Linked DNA regions of Homo sapiens: all the other regions are linked to region 3. The links are contacts of gene promoters, found by promoter capture Hi-C in blood cells and fetal thymus (Javierre and others, 2016). All regions are on one chromosome and are shown on one strand. The core of a region is centred on a gene start or on the middle of the fragment in contact, and the rest is flanking DNA. Distances in the headings are between cores, read along the strand shown.

Region 1 (4,483 bases), core at 1,215-3,714, 2.0 Mb before region 3:
AGCCACAGATATTTTCTAAAAACTTCCCAATAGAGTTTTAAATGAGCCAGAGTTGAGAACAACTGCCTTATAGGCTTTTTAAGGATAGACCCCTACATTCACCTGTATAACCTGTCTAAAAGCCAGCATACTGTTTGGAAGATACTATTCAATAAATGCTTTGAAAACGGAATCACTGTCAATTCTTACTTCTAGACACAAGATAGGGAGCCTTTATCCTACTGTTTCATTAAGCTTCTCTGACTTTAAGTTTTGTTTCTTTTGGGGCAGAGGAACAAATAAAGATGGTCAATGTGTCCTACAGTCTTGACAGAATTAAGTCTCTCTAGATGGCAGGAATATAGGCAACTTTTATGTCCTTCTTTTTGCTTGTTTTTAAATAGAAAAAAGAAGTTTTTGCTGTTTTCTTTCTAATGCATATTTTAAAATTGGGATATAGTAGAAATGATCTTTAAAATAAACTTTAAACCAGAAAGACCCCAACAGGAATTTCAGTTCCATCACTTGCTGTGTGATTGTAGACAACATTCTTTTAGTTCCCCTTAGCCTTAATCTCCATTATCAGTAAAGGGCGGTTGTTTGTTGCAAAAAGTAAATGAGACACAACATGTAAATTACTTACTCCACCTGATTTATTCACAAAGTCTGAAGACTAGAGGACAAGCTGACAAGGACATCTGGGGCAGTATGAATTAACTAAATTAATTGAGCTATCATTCCCATTCTTCCAACAACAATCACTGTAGGAGATTTTTCCTTCCTTTTGTCAGTGGCCTCAACTTTTAAGTGCTTTTTGAAAGGTAGTTTTGGTAAAAGGCTGAATACTTTGTGATGAAGCAACCTAATCCCAGACTTTTACATTCTGAGACCAATAGTAACTTTCTTTTTATCTTTCCTGTACATCTCAGTTCACTCAAGTCTAATATGAGCTAAGGTTCTAAGGTTTTAGGCAAACAATAAAAAATTGTTGCAAAATCTCTTGCCAGTGCAGAGCATAGCTATAAAAGTAAAACATAATCCCTGTTTTCTGAAATACATTCCAGACAAAAGTGATCTGTTTAATGGCCTCACCTTCATGAATTTTGGTCTAATTTGTGTTGGTAAATCAGTTAGCAAGCTCCACTTGATCAGGAAATTTTGTTGCACCTGACTATGTGCCTAAACGAATAATCAAGAAATGTAGAAATGATTCGTATTCAAAACTGTGGAAATTTTAGCAAATGAGGAAAAAAGTGCCCTTAGCTGCATTAAATAACTCTAAGTAGAAAACCAAAGCAGGTAAGGGTAATCTTGAGATTTCCAGTTGTGTTCTAATTAACAACTTGTCATTCCTTTGTGGCCTATACTTTTACAGATACTATCTGTCAGCTTTCTTTTTTTTTTGAGACGGAGTTTCACTCTTGTCACCCAGGCTGGAGTGCAATGGCGTGATCTCGGCTCACTGCAACCTCTGCCTCCTGAGTTCAAGCGATTCTCCTGCCTCAGCCTCCCGAGTAGCTGGAATTACAGGTGCCTGTCACCATGCCGGGCCAATTTTTTGTATTTTTGGGAGAGACAGGGTTTCAATATGTTGGCCAGGCTGGTCTCGAACTCCTGACCTCATGATCCGCCCGCCTCAGCCTCCCAAAGTGCTGTGAACCACCGCACCCAGCCTGTCCATTTTCTAAAGTTTGAAACTGCCTCCTCTGTTTGACTAAGTGTCACCTTCACAATTTCCCCAACATAGCACCATGAAGTACTAGCCATTAAACCTTTCCTTTAAAAATGTCCTCTACTGCTCCCTTCAATAGTTCATCTTCCTTTGTTTTGGGATTTTGGATGACCTCTTCACTCCAATAATATTGTCTGTGCTTAGACATGTTACATAACTTTTAACCATAGTTGTCCCAAAATGATTAACTGCTAAGTTTTCATTGTCTAAGTTTCATCCTTTAAATTATCAATTTAACGTATCTTTACTCATGAGTCTAATTCTACTATTACAAAACTACAATTTAGATAATGAAGATGGAGGAGAGTAACACTGCCAACCTTGCAATAACAACTAAAAACAAAAAGAAAGGCAAATAGGGGAGAGGGGGAAGACCAGATAGTTTCTCTTTAACTTATTCTAAATAAGAAACCTGCATTTTCTCCTTTAAAAGACATCAACCCAGGGGGAATGCCCCACTCACACTATTATCAGCATCATAATAACAAACCTCTACTGCTGTGTTACACACCACGCTAAGCACTTTCTCTAAATTCTCTCTATTTAATCCAAACCACAAACCTAAGGTAAATGCTTCTATCATCTCTATTTTACAAACAAGGAAACTTGGCCTTAAAGAAAGGTTAAGTGAATTGTCCCAAGTTATCACAGGATTGGCAGAAGAAGGATCTGAATTCATAAATTCTGAATCCGCCACACTAAAATGCCTGGTTTCTTCAATCAGAAAACTGCTATTAATCATCTACTATCTTCCAGGTTAATTCTAATGCTTGCAGTAGCTTTTCCAATCTGCACTGAGGTGCTTTTACAGGGCATTCATGAAGAGATAAAGACTACAGTCTCCAGCACTTAACTAATGGGTCTCCAAGGCAGATCCTTTTCTTTTTCAGTGTTTCCAATGACAGCAAAAAATGCTTCCTTGATATTTTGAATCTTGAAGGGAAACATCCTACAGGCAAAAATGTACCAATTACAGACCCTTATTAATTGTCCATACTCCAACTTCTCACTTCACGTAACATCTGCTATGTGAGCAACGGGAATTGATTTTATTATGACCAAGGTGCCTTTCACAACTCTTTGGATCAGTGCTTGTGTTTTCTTGAGCTACAAAGTCAAGGGAAAACAGATGTTCATTTTTAAGTTCTAATTTAGATTTAGGCTTTAAATTAGAATCAAGTTTCAATTAAACAACTAATAGGCAGTTATTTGCACAACATTGTTTTCAACCAGCACGGAGGTGACAAAAAGAATAAAATGGCCAGGCGCAGTGGCTCATGCCTGTAATCCCAGCACTTTGGGAAGCCGAGGTGGGTAGATTACCTGAGGTCAGGCGTTCGAGACCAGCCTGGCCAACATGGCAAAACCCCATCTCTACTAAAAATACAAAAAAATTAGCCGGGCATGGTGGCGTGTGCCTGTAGTCCCAGCTACTTGGGAGGCTGAGCCAGGAGAATCACTTGAATCTGGGAGGCAGAGATTGCAGTGAGCCGAGATCACGCCATTGCACTCCAGCCTGGGCAACAAGAGCGAAACTCCATCTCAAAAAATAAAAATTAAAATTAAAATTAAAAAATTTAAAAAAAAAAGAATAAAATAAGGCTAGGCACTGTAGCTCATGCCTGTAATCCTAGCACTTTGGGAGGCCAAGTTGGACAGATCACTTGAGGCCAGGGGTTCAAAACCAGCCTGGCCAACATGGCAAAACCCCGACTCTACTAAAAATATAAAAAATTAGCTGAGAGTAGTGGCACAAGCCTATAATCCTGGCTACTCAGGAAACTGAGGCATGAGAATCGCTTAAACCTGGGAGGTAGACGTTGCAGTGAGCCGAGATCGCACCACTGCACTCCAGCCTGGGCAACAGAGCAAGACTGTCTCTAAATAAATAAACTGAGATCCTCAGCTCTCCAGGAGTATTGAACCTAGTGAGGAATATATAATATATGCAGTATTTATAATGGAAATAGGAAATACAGGGTTGTTTCTTCAAAATGGACCTTGAAGGATGAGAAACCTAAAGGCTAACAAAGATATCAACAGATATATATGGGAAGATTATTCCAAGAAGAGAATAAGTCTTTGAGTACATGTCAACAGATGAGACTGTGGATATGCTGGACTTAAGACTATTAGATTAATATGAATGGAGCTTGGTTATGTGGAAGTGGTAAGGGGAAGAAGGTTTGTAGTAGGATATAAGGCTGTCAAGGAGGTAAAAACCAAACTTCGTGAGGCTCTGAATATCAGGCAAAATAGGTGGAATGTTTAAAAAAATCTAAGAAAGGTAGTAAATGTCTGTCAAAACACATGCTACAATGATGAAAGGATAAAAAAGTTTTTAGAGATAAAGATCTGTTTTACTGAAAGTCTGGCCTTCAACTATTAACATACAGTCAAATTTTAGCCTGCTTAAAACTTACACACTGGTATCTGTTTTAAAATTAATGCTTTTCCTGAAATCTAAGAAAAAAACTTTTGAGAGTAGACAGAAGAAATCTTTTTCTCCTCTCCTTTTGTTTTAGGATTTAGTTAACAATAGCTCTATTCAAACCAACTTGGCCCTTCTGCAGTCTTCTAAGAGCAAATACAAACTTTAATACAAATGTCGCTGAATATGACTTAGCATTAGCTTTGCTTAAAAATCATGTAATTTTTTTTATTTAACTGTCCATGGCAAAAAACAAGCATTCAGTAAGTAATGAATAAGTTGTTCTATTTATTTCAATTATTAGTTATACAAAAAAACGTAGGGTTTGCCACAAGGTAAGC
Region 2 (4,749 bases), core at 142-2,641, 2.4 Mb after region 3:
CTTTGTTGAAATAATATAGTGGTTTAGTGTTTTCAAATCATGTTTCTCATACCCAGATAGTAGATTATTCACTTAGGACAGAGGTAATCAAATTATGTGTGAAATGTAGGAAAATGCTTGCCCCTGTAAACTAGTGAGTTGATGGAGCATTTGCTTCATCATCCTCATCAAGAGAATCATATAAATTAAGCTTTATAATGACATTTCAACCATCAACATAATATAGTGAGGAGTAGCATAATATTTTTTAATAATGCAGAAAACATCACTGAAATGAGAGTCACAAATTTTTCTTCAGTGTTTCAGCCTGAGTAAGTTACATAAACCTCGCTTAGCCTCCCTTCCTGCTAATGTGTAAAATACATACTTGCCCTGGCTACCTCACCGGGCTGTTATTGCTGGAATCAGAGGAGATAACATATATGGAAGATAAAGTGAATAAAAGTACTTTGAAAAACTATAAAGCATTCCACAAATATGAGATGATGGTATTATCCATCCATAAATAGGTAGATATATCTCTATTTTATAGTTTCAGATTAAACAAAACTGATATCAATAGTAAAAGTCATTTTACTTATCAATTTTCTGTTTTTTTTTTTAGTTTTAAAGATATTATTGGCCGGGAGTGGTGGCTCACACCTGTAATCCCAGCACTTTGGGAGATTGAGGTGGGTGGATCACTTGAGGTCAGGAGTTCAACACCAGCCTGGCCAACATAGTGAAACCGTCTCTACTAAAAACACAAAAATTAGCCAGGCATGGTGGCGCATGCCTGTAATCGCAGCCACTCGGGAGGCTGAGGCATGAGGTTTGCTTGAACCTGGGAGATGGAGGTTGCAGTGAGCCAAGATGGTGCCATTACACTCCAGCCTGGGTGACAGAGCAAGACTCCATCTCAAAAAAAAAAAGACAACAAAGATATTATTAATCACTGAACACTATTTTCTCTCAATTATAAGTAATTGAAAATTCTAATCAACCTTAGATTAACCTCAAATGTGCGAAAAAGTGAACACCAAAACTCATTGTGATTTTAAGTTCTAATCATACACATAAAAGTTTTAATAAACTAATAATTATAAAATGAGGCCGGGTACAGTGGCTCACGCCTATAATCCCAGCACTTTGGGAGGCTGAGGCAGACAGATCACAAGGTCAAGAGACTGAGACCATCCTGGCCAACATGGTGAAACCCCATCTCTACTAAAAATACAAAAATTAGCTGGGTGTGGTGGCACATACCTGTAGTCCCAGCTACTCAGGAGGCTGAGGCAGGAGAATCACTTGAACCCAGGAGGTGGAGATTGCAGTGAGCCGAGGTTACACCACTGCACTCCAGCCTGGCAACAGAACAAGACTCCATTTCAAAAAAAGACAAAATGAGAACAAGGTCTTGATCAGTGATTTTGAAATTGTTTTCTTCTACTCAGTCTTCACTTCTGCCTTGAAATTCTTTTGATTTATACCTTTTTTTTTTTTGAGACAGAGTCTCGCTCTTTTGCCCAGGTTAGAGTGCAGTGGCACCATCTTGGCTCACTGCAACCTCCACCTCCTGGGTTCAAGTGATTCTCCTGCCTCAGCCTCCTATTTAATTAATTAATAATTGATTTAATGATTTAGTTTAAAATGTTAAATTCATTTTAAAATAACCCATTACATGTTAACACAAATAGCATGTTTTTATTTTATTTTATTTTGAGACAGAGTCTCACTCTGTTGCCCAGGCTGGAGTGCAATGGTGCGATCTTGGCTCACTTCATCCTCCACCTCCCGGGTTCAGGCAGTTTTCCTGCCTCAGCCTCCTGAGTAGTTGGGACCACAGGTGCCCTCCACCACACCTGGTTAATTTTTGTATTTTTAGTAGAGACGAGGTTTTGCCATGTTGACCAGGCTGGTCTCAAGCTCCTGGCCTCAGGTGATCCGCCTGCCTCAGCCTCCCAAAGTTCTGGGATTACAAAGGCGTGAGCCACCACACTCAGCCATGTTTTTATTTTAAAAATAATTATTTTCAAAAAAAAAATAGAAGAGTAACATTGTTTTATATTTCTGCAAATATTTTTTATTTCTGGCTTAATAGAAGACACTAGATTCTGATATCTGCTTCTGTATCCTATCTGTTGTTATATGCTGTTTTGGTTGAAGTCTGTGAAGAAAATCTGACCCCACTCATATATAAAGTTGGAAAAGGGAGGAGTATTTTAATAGCTTTGTCTGATAATTATGGATACTCTCTTTGATACCACACCAAAATATGACAAGTAGTAGAGTTCCTTAAAGGCTAGTTGCAATGTGGATTCTGAAATCGTATTGATGAGCTTTTCTAAAGTCCATTGGTGTACCTTGTATTTAAATAGAACTTTTACCTATGTGTGATATTTGTAACACCAGTCCAGTGATTGATCATTTGGAAAATATTGGTTCACTGAGTTATGCAAATCTTCCAAATGTTGACACATTTTGATATACAATATCTAAAACAAAATACCATTAATTAATATTACCACCAATCCCATTACAAAAGTCTAAGTCTGAGGAAGCTATAAGGGCACAGAAGTGTATACAAGCCTTCCAAAATTTTAGGTTTCATTTGGAAGCTTGAGTTTTATCATTGGCAACAAATGCCATCAGTTTTTTCCAAGCTGACTTGTTCTTTTTTGAGCAAATCTCTGCCAAAATTACCCCTAAAATATGAATAATCAATTTGTCAGGTTTTTTCAAACTAAAAATGTTCTGTGAAAACAAGCAGCTAGTTCAGCTTGTATCTCAAACAATTGTAACTACTTTTTCTAGGGAAAAAAAAATCTAGACATCCATACTTTATGGCAGATGTGCTTCATGCATACTTCCCATTTTGTCACACAGAATATCAAAATAACGTGTACTCAAGGTCAAGATTTACTAACAACTAAAATTCCAAAACTGCTAAACAACAGAATGCTGAATAAGGTGATCCAATTTTTAATATTTTATTTGAGACAACATCTCACCCTGTCACCCAGGCTGGAATCCAGTGGTGTGACACAGCTCACTGCATCCTCAACCTCCTGGGCTCAAGCGATCGTCCCACCTCAGTCTCATGAGTGGTTGGGACTACAGGCATGCACCATCATGCCCGGCTCACTTTTTTTTTCTTTTTTTTTTTAATTGTAGACACAGGGTCTCACTATGTTGCCCAGGCCGGTCTTGAACTCCTGGACTCAAGCAATCCCCCCACCTTGGTTTCCCAAAGTGTTGGGATTACAGGCATGAGCTACTACATACAACTGAAATCTTTTAATATGCTTGTCAAAAAGTTTTCTGATTCAGCAAATGGCACTTATATATAAAAGAGAGAACAAGAAGCTGGATGCGGTGGCTCACGCCTGTAATCCCAGCACTTTGGGAGGCTAGGTGGGCAGATCACGAGGTCAGGAGTTCGAGACCAGCCTGGCCAACGTGGTGAAACCCCCTCTCTACTAAAAATACAAAAATAGCCAGGCATGGTGGCCCACGCCTGTAATCCCAGCTACTTGGAAGGCTGAGGCAGGAGAATCGCTTGAACCTGGGAGGTGGAGGTTGCAGTGAGCCAAGATTGCGCCGCTACATTCCAGCCTGGGCAACACGAGCGAAACTCCGTCTCAAAAAAAAAAAAAAAAAGAATAGAACTTGGCTGGATGCAGTGGCTCACACCTGTAATCCCAGCACTTTGGGAGGGCAGGGCAGTTGGATCACTTGAGGCCAGGAGTTCAAGACTAGCCTGGCTGACATGGTGAAACTCCATCTCTACTAAAAATACAGAAAAAAAAATTAGCTGGGAGTGGTGGCACACACCTGTCATCCCAGCTACTCAGGTAGTTGAGGCACAACAATCACTTGAGCCTAGGAGGCCCAGGCTGGAGTGAGGTGGCACGATCTTGGTTCACTGCAACCTCCACCTCCAGGGTTCAGAGTAGCTGGGACTACAGGCCCACACTACCACACCCGGCTAATTTTCGCTTTTTTTCAGTAGAGACCGGGTTTTGCCATGTTGGCCAGGCTGGTCTCGAAGCCTGAGCCATAACCTGGCGAAAAGATACTTTGAAATGTAACATCGTTTTTCACTTCAAAATCAAGGTATTTTACCAACTTGTCTTTGGTACCTCCCCAAAAACTGATCTACTACATTTGCAGTTTCATTCATTTTTCCAACATTAAGGAATAAACTTGAAGCGCTTACATTCTTGTGGGGGAAGTAAGAACAAAACACATAATAGGTCATGGTGGTCACATGAAAAGTAAAGGGTAACCGATTGGGGTAGGTGGTGGTAGTTTTGTGTGTGTGTTTTTTTTTGAGACCAAGTCTCGCCGTTGCCCAGGCTGGAGTGCGGTGGCATGATCTCAGTTCACTGCAACCTCCACTTCCTAGGTTCAAGCAATTCTCCTGCCTCAGCCTCCTGAGTAGCTGGGATTACAGGTGCACGCCACACCTGGCTAACTTTTGTATTTTTAGTAGAGATGGGGGTTTCACTATGTTGGTCAGGCTGGTCTCAAACTCCTGACCGTGTGATCCACCCGCCTCGGCCTCCCAAAGTGGTGGGATTACAGGCATGAACCACCACGCCCAGCCTTCTTTTTTCCTTTGAGAAAGTCTCACCCTGGCACCCAGGCTGGAGTGCAGTGGCAGGATCACGGGTCACTGCAACCTCAGCCTCCCAGGTTCAGTTCCCCTGCCTCAGCCTCCCGAATAGCTGGGACTACAATAGCCCACCACTACACCCGGCTAGATTT
Region 3 (4,545 bases), core at 1,142-3,641:
CAGGAGAACCGCTCGAACCTGGGAGGTGAAGGTTGCAGTAAGCTGAGATTACGCCACCTGGACAACAGAGTGAGACTCCATGGGGAAAAAAAAAAAGAAAGAAGGAAGGAAGGAAGGAAGAAAAGGCAGGCAGGCAAGGAAGGAAGGAAGGGAGGGAGGGAGGGGAGGGGAAGGGAGGGAGGGAGGGAGGGGAGGGGAGAAGGAGGGAGGGAGGGGAGGGGAGGGGAGGGAAATGAGAAAATGTACTCAAGAAAAGATAGCACCTTGGGTCCATGCTGGCATACCGGAGGCTTTCTGTTTCTGGCAAAAATTAAAAGAAAAAAAGAAAAAAAAAGTATTGGCTTTGCAGTTGTTGAGTGTTCAGGTGTATAAATTAAAGCTCTTAGAAATTAATAATTTAATACATGTCTTTTTTTTTTTTTTTTTTTTTTTGAGACAGAGTCTCGCTCTCTCGCTCTGTTGCCCAGGCTGGAGTGCAGTGGCAGGATCTGTGCTCACTGCAAGCTCCGCCTCCTGGGTTCACGCCATTCTCCTGCTTCAGCCTCCTGAGTAGCTGGGACTACAGGCGCCCGCCACCACGCCCGGCTAATTTTTTTTTGTATTTTTTAGTAGAGACTGGGTTTCACCGTGTTAGCCAGGATGGTCTCGATCTCCTGACCTTGTGATCCGCCCGCCTCGGCCTCCCAAAGTGCTGGGATTACAGGCGTGAGCCACCGCGCCCGGCCATACGTGTCAGTCTTATGACCTTGGTTAATGTAATTTCATCTGATTGCTGAAGTTGTTCTCCATTGCTCAAGACAGATGATTTGGCTGGGCGTGGTGGCTCATGCCGGTAATTCCGGCACTTTGGGAGGCCAATGCGGGAGGCTTGCTTGAGCTCAGGAGTTCGAAACCAGCCCAGTCAACATAGCAAGACCTCGTCTCTACTGGCAAAAAAAAAAAAAAAAAAAAAAAAAAGCCAGGTTTTGTGGCAAGCACCTGTAGTCCCACCTACCTGGGAGGCTGAGACAGGTGGATTGCTTGAGCCTGGGAGGTTGAGGCTTCAGTGACCTGTGATTATGCCACTACACTCCAGCCTGGGCAGCAAAGTGAGACCCTGCCTCCAAAAAAACAAAGAAAGATGTTTCTGTGACCAGGACACTATAGACCAGATCCTAGAAGGTTGTAGAAATTCACTAAAGTAATGCTTCCTTGTCCTCTTGTGGATGATCAGTAGGCTTTCCCCTGGCAATGACCCTATATCAATAAAAAAACTTTTTCTTTTCTTCTTTTCTATTTTTTCGAGAAAGAGTCTCGCTGCAGCCTCAACCTCCTGTGCTCAAGTGATCCTTTTGCCTCCAGCCTCCCAGGTAGCTAGGACTATAAGCATGTGCCACTATGCCTAGCTAGCTTTTTTTCTTTTTAATTTTTTTGCAGAGGTAGGGTCTCACTATGTTGCCCAGATTGGTCTTGAACTCCTGGTCTCAAGCAATCCTTTTGCCTTGACCTACCAAAGTATTAGTATTACAGGCATGAGCCACCAAGCAAGTCCAGACTTTTCTACTTCAAATTAATATTAGTGGGGAGGGAGGTGTTCATAATTTACCTCTCTTTATTATTTCATTTATTCTAACATTGCTACAGTGACAATTCCATGGACATACACCAGCTACTGGCGGGGAAGATCGTTCAGACCAGAAGTGGTAAGAAATCCTTGAATTTTAAATATGTCATAGGTAGTTCACAAAGAGGACAAAAGATACCATTTACTAAACATTCGCCATCTGTTCTGACATAATATTATCATCATTGTAGTCTCCCACTTCCAGATACACTCATCTGCCTATGTTACACTTGCCTAGTAAAAGCCAGCATGGGTGAATCTTACTATTCAACGGAGCTGAACACTGTGATGGAGAGATCATATAAATAAACTGAATGGCTTATCTCACATCCATAATTAGAAACTTAAAAAGTGCTCTCAGCAGCCCATGCTACTCTGTTCCTCACACTAGTTTTACTTTCACTCTCTGTGATAACTTTTCAATACACCAAGACTTCTCAGCTTGCCCCAAATTCACTGAGACATACTGGCGAACTGCTGGTTCAACCATTTACACATCCACCCACCAGACATAAGAGTGCTCATTTCACTGAGGCTTATTATCAACTTGTAAACGTGGTCAATTCAAGACTTCTTAGAAAGGTCTCAGGTCCAAGCTTTGTCCTGAAAAGATAATTCTGATTGCAGAAACTCCCTCCGTCCAGCAGGAAGCGCCAGCACCCTCTGTCGGGGTTGGGCCGCCACGGAGGCTTCACGTGATCCGGCCGTCTCTGCGCAGGAGTGTGGTCTTGCGGAGATTTGACCTACGTACTTAGCGTCATGACGTAGTACGTAGGGGCTGGCTAGCCGCCATCTTGCTTCTTTTTCTCGCTCGCTCGCTCCCCCTCGGAAAGCTGCGAAAGTGCTTTGGCGGTTTGTCCATCCGCAGCTTCGGCTTTTCCAGTCTGGTGGCCCTTCCGGCCACCCCTTTAACCCCAGCTTTCCCTCCCCCTTCTTTCGATCAGAGATCGGCGGAGACCCTCGAAGTGCGCAAACTTGACACTCACCCTGACCGGTAAGGAAAGCGAGGGTGTGGGGGCCGCGATCAAAGAGGGCCCCATCGGGAACGGCCAGAGTGCGGCCTGGGGCGTGGGAGCGCACCCAGACCCTGGCGCCCGGAGGCTAGGGGGCCGCGTGGAGAGGGCCTTGGGTCCGGGCATTTCCCTTCTGTTTGGTTACCATCATCTCTGTGTCTGGGGAAGTCGGCCTCCAGCTTGGGGAGCGGGAAACCGGAGTCAGACCCGCCCCATGTGGTCTGCAGCGGGAGTTCTGGACCGGTCTGTCTTGCTCCCACCTAGACCCCAGTCCTGGCCCTGCGAGGGGATTACGCATGTTGCCGGGTAAGCGAAGGGGGTTTCCGTCTTCCTGGACTGGCGGACGTGAAGTCTTTTTTTTTTTTTTTTTTTTTTAGTGTCGGGTATGCGTTTCCCCAAACAACTGAAGGACTCAGCCGGGGCTTTCACTGTCTACCTCTTCCTGTGTAGTGAGGGTGGGACTTGCAATGAGCAATGTATGGGAGGGTCTGGTTTAAAGACCTGGTTAGATGAGAGGCTCTTCGGGGAATCAAGACCAACCCTACTTCCGCTAGGGAAGTGCTGCCCAACTCCGGAGGAGGATTTGGGTAGTCTTTTCACACTCTAGGCCGCTCCATCCTCTAACTTGCGTGGTGAATCTCGGTAGCTCCCTGTCTTTGAGATAGCGTTGATATTGGTGGTGTCAGGGTAAAGGCCCCGTTTTAGGACTGAAGAAAAGGGCATGGGGCCACTATAGAGACATTGATAGAGTCTTCCTTCCTTTGCATGAGAGGAGTACCTTTAATTTAAAGGGATGTATGTGTGTTTTGACATTATTTGGGATCTTTTGAGGGTCTGACATGCCTGATGTTTGCTGGCTTATAAAGCTACCTGGATTTCCGCATTGGCTGGTTTTCAGCCTGGGTTCATAGATTCATACCTCGTTAGAGTACTTAGAATTGTACAGTAGGCGGCTCTGCTGTAAGATTTTCATTTGGAATGCACCAGAAGAATCGGAGGATTTTTTGATTGTTGAGTACTTAATAGCTTACTCCTGCAAATAAAAATAATAGGGTGATACTAAGCACCTACCAAGCCTAACCCCACCATTTTTCAAAACTAGATTTCACCTCCCATATTGGTAATTAAGATGCTGCTTTGACTGGAGCCATTTTTAGGTGTGTGTCACAGATGCACTGCAGCATCTTTTCTGGCTCACCCCAAATGCATTGATCCCCTAAAAAATTAGGAATAAATTGAACTTGAATTTTGTCTTTAGCATGTAGTCAAATAGTAATTCTCTCCTTTTCTGTAAGTGGATTTTCAGAATATAGCCTTTTTAAGTGATTGTGTTTGCTCTGCTTAGCTTATGTGTGGCTGTTCTCCATTAGGTGACCTTTTGCTATACACTGAGCACAGTAATAAGTCCTTTTCATACATTTTTTTTTTAATCTCCACAACAGACCTTTGAGAAAAGTGCTATTAAGATCATCCCCATTTTACAGATGAGGAAATGAAATCTGAGAGAGTAGTCTGACCAAGGTCACATAGCAGTTATTGGTGGTATTGTGTAGGTTCAATTCCATACTGTCTGAACCCAAAGGGGATGCTCTAAACCTTCAACCTGCTTTTTAAATTATAAACTACAGTAACTAAATAAGATAAAGCATTATTAACTAGTAGTTTTTCTTTAGCTTGACTAGTATATGAATATTGTTGCATGCTAAGGTTAAAGTTTTGAAAGTTGTAAAAATGGAATATATCCACTTTGGACTTGGGGTAGAGGCTAATTTTTTTGTGTCCTTTTCTATTTGAGTGCTTAGAGATAACTTAAAACTAACTCTACCATGTCGTAGATATAATTTTTAAATTTAGGCGTCTGATCTATATTATTGGTAGAATATTCCCTCATCTGTAAAATGGTGATGATAATAGGACTTCCCTCAGAGG

What was found. The method cuts DNA at HindIII sites, captures the fragments that hold promoters and counts their contacts. A CHiCAGO score of 5 or more calls a contact.
Region 1: a contact is called between a fragment that was not itself captured here and the fragment with the promoter of PRRC2C in region 3, in 1 of 17 cell types (neutrophils). The highest score is 6.7, in neutrophils.
Region 2: a fragment that was not itself captured here is called in contact with the fragment with the promoter of PRRC2C in region 3 in 1 of 17 cell types (total CD4 T cells); the score reaches 5.8 in total CD4 T cells.

What each region holds. Positions count from the first base shown.
Region 1 is chr1:169,478,947-169,483,429 of GRCh38, forward strand. All of the region lies in intron 1 of SLC19A2 (solute carrier family 19 member 2), which reads right to left. Among named protein-coding and RNA genes, the nearest start is that of SLC19A2, 4.8 kb to the right of the region's middle. The HindIII fragment of the contact is 4,464 bases long and covers 233-4,483 here.
Region 2 is chr1:173,857,963-173,862,711 of GRCh38, forward strand. DARS2 (aspartyl-tRNA synthetase 2, mitochondrial) reads left to right here. Exons shown (of 17, transcript NM_018122.5): 17 at 1-584. Among named protein-coding and RNA genes, the nearest start is that of GAS5-AS1, 2.9 kb to the right of the region's middle. RefSeq lists enhancers at 2,952-3,668, 3,669-4,385 and silencers at 3,439-3,589, 4,637-4,749. The HindIII fragment of the contact is 2,407 bases long and covers 189-2,595 here.
Region 3 is chr1:171,483,139-171,487,683 of GRCh38, forward strand. PRRC2C (proline rich coiled-coil 2C) reads left to right here and starts at 2,392. Exons shown (of 35, transcript NM_001387844.1): 1 at 2,392-2,597. RefSeq lists enhancers at 1,981-2,290, 2,197-2,945. The HindIII fragment of the contact is 3,004 bases long and covers 2,198-4,545 here.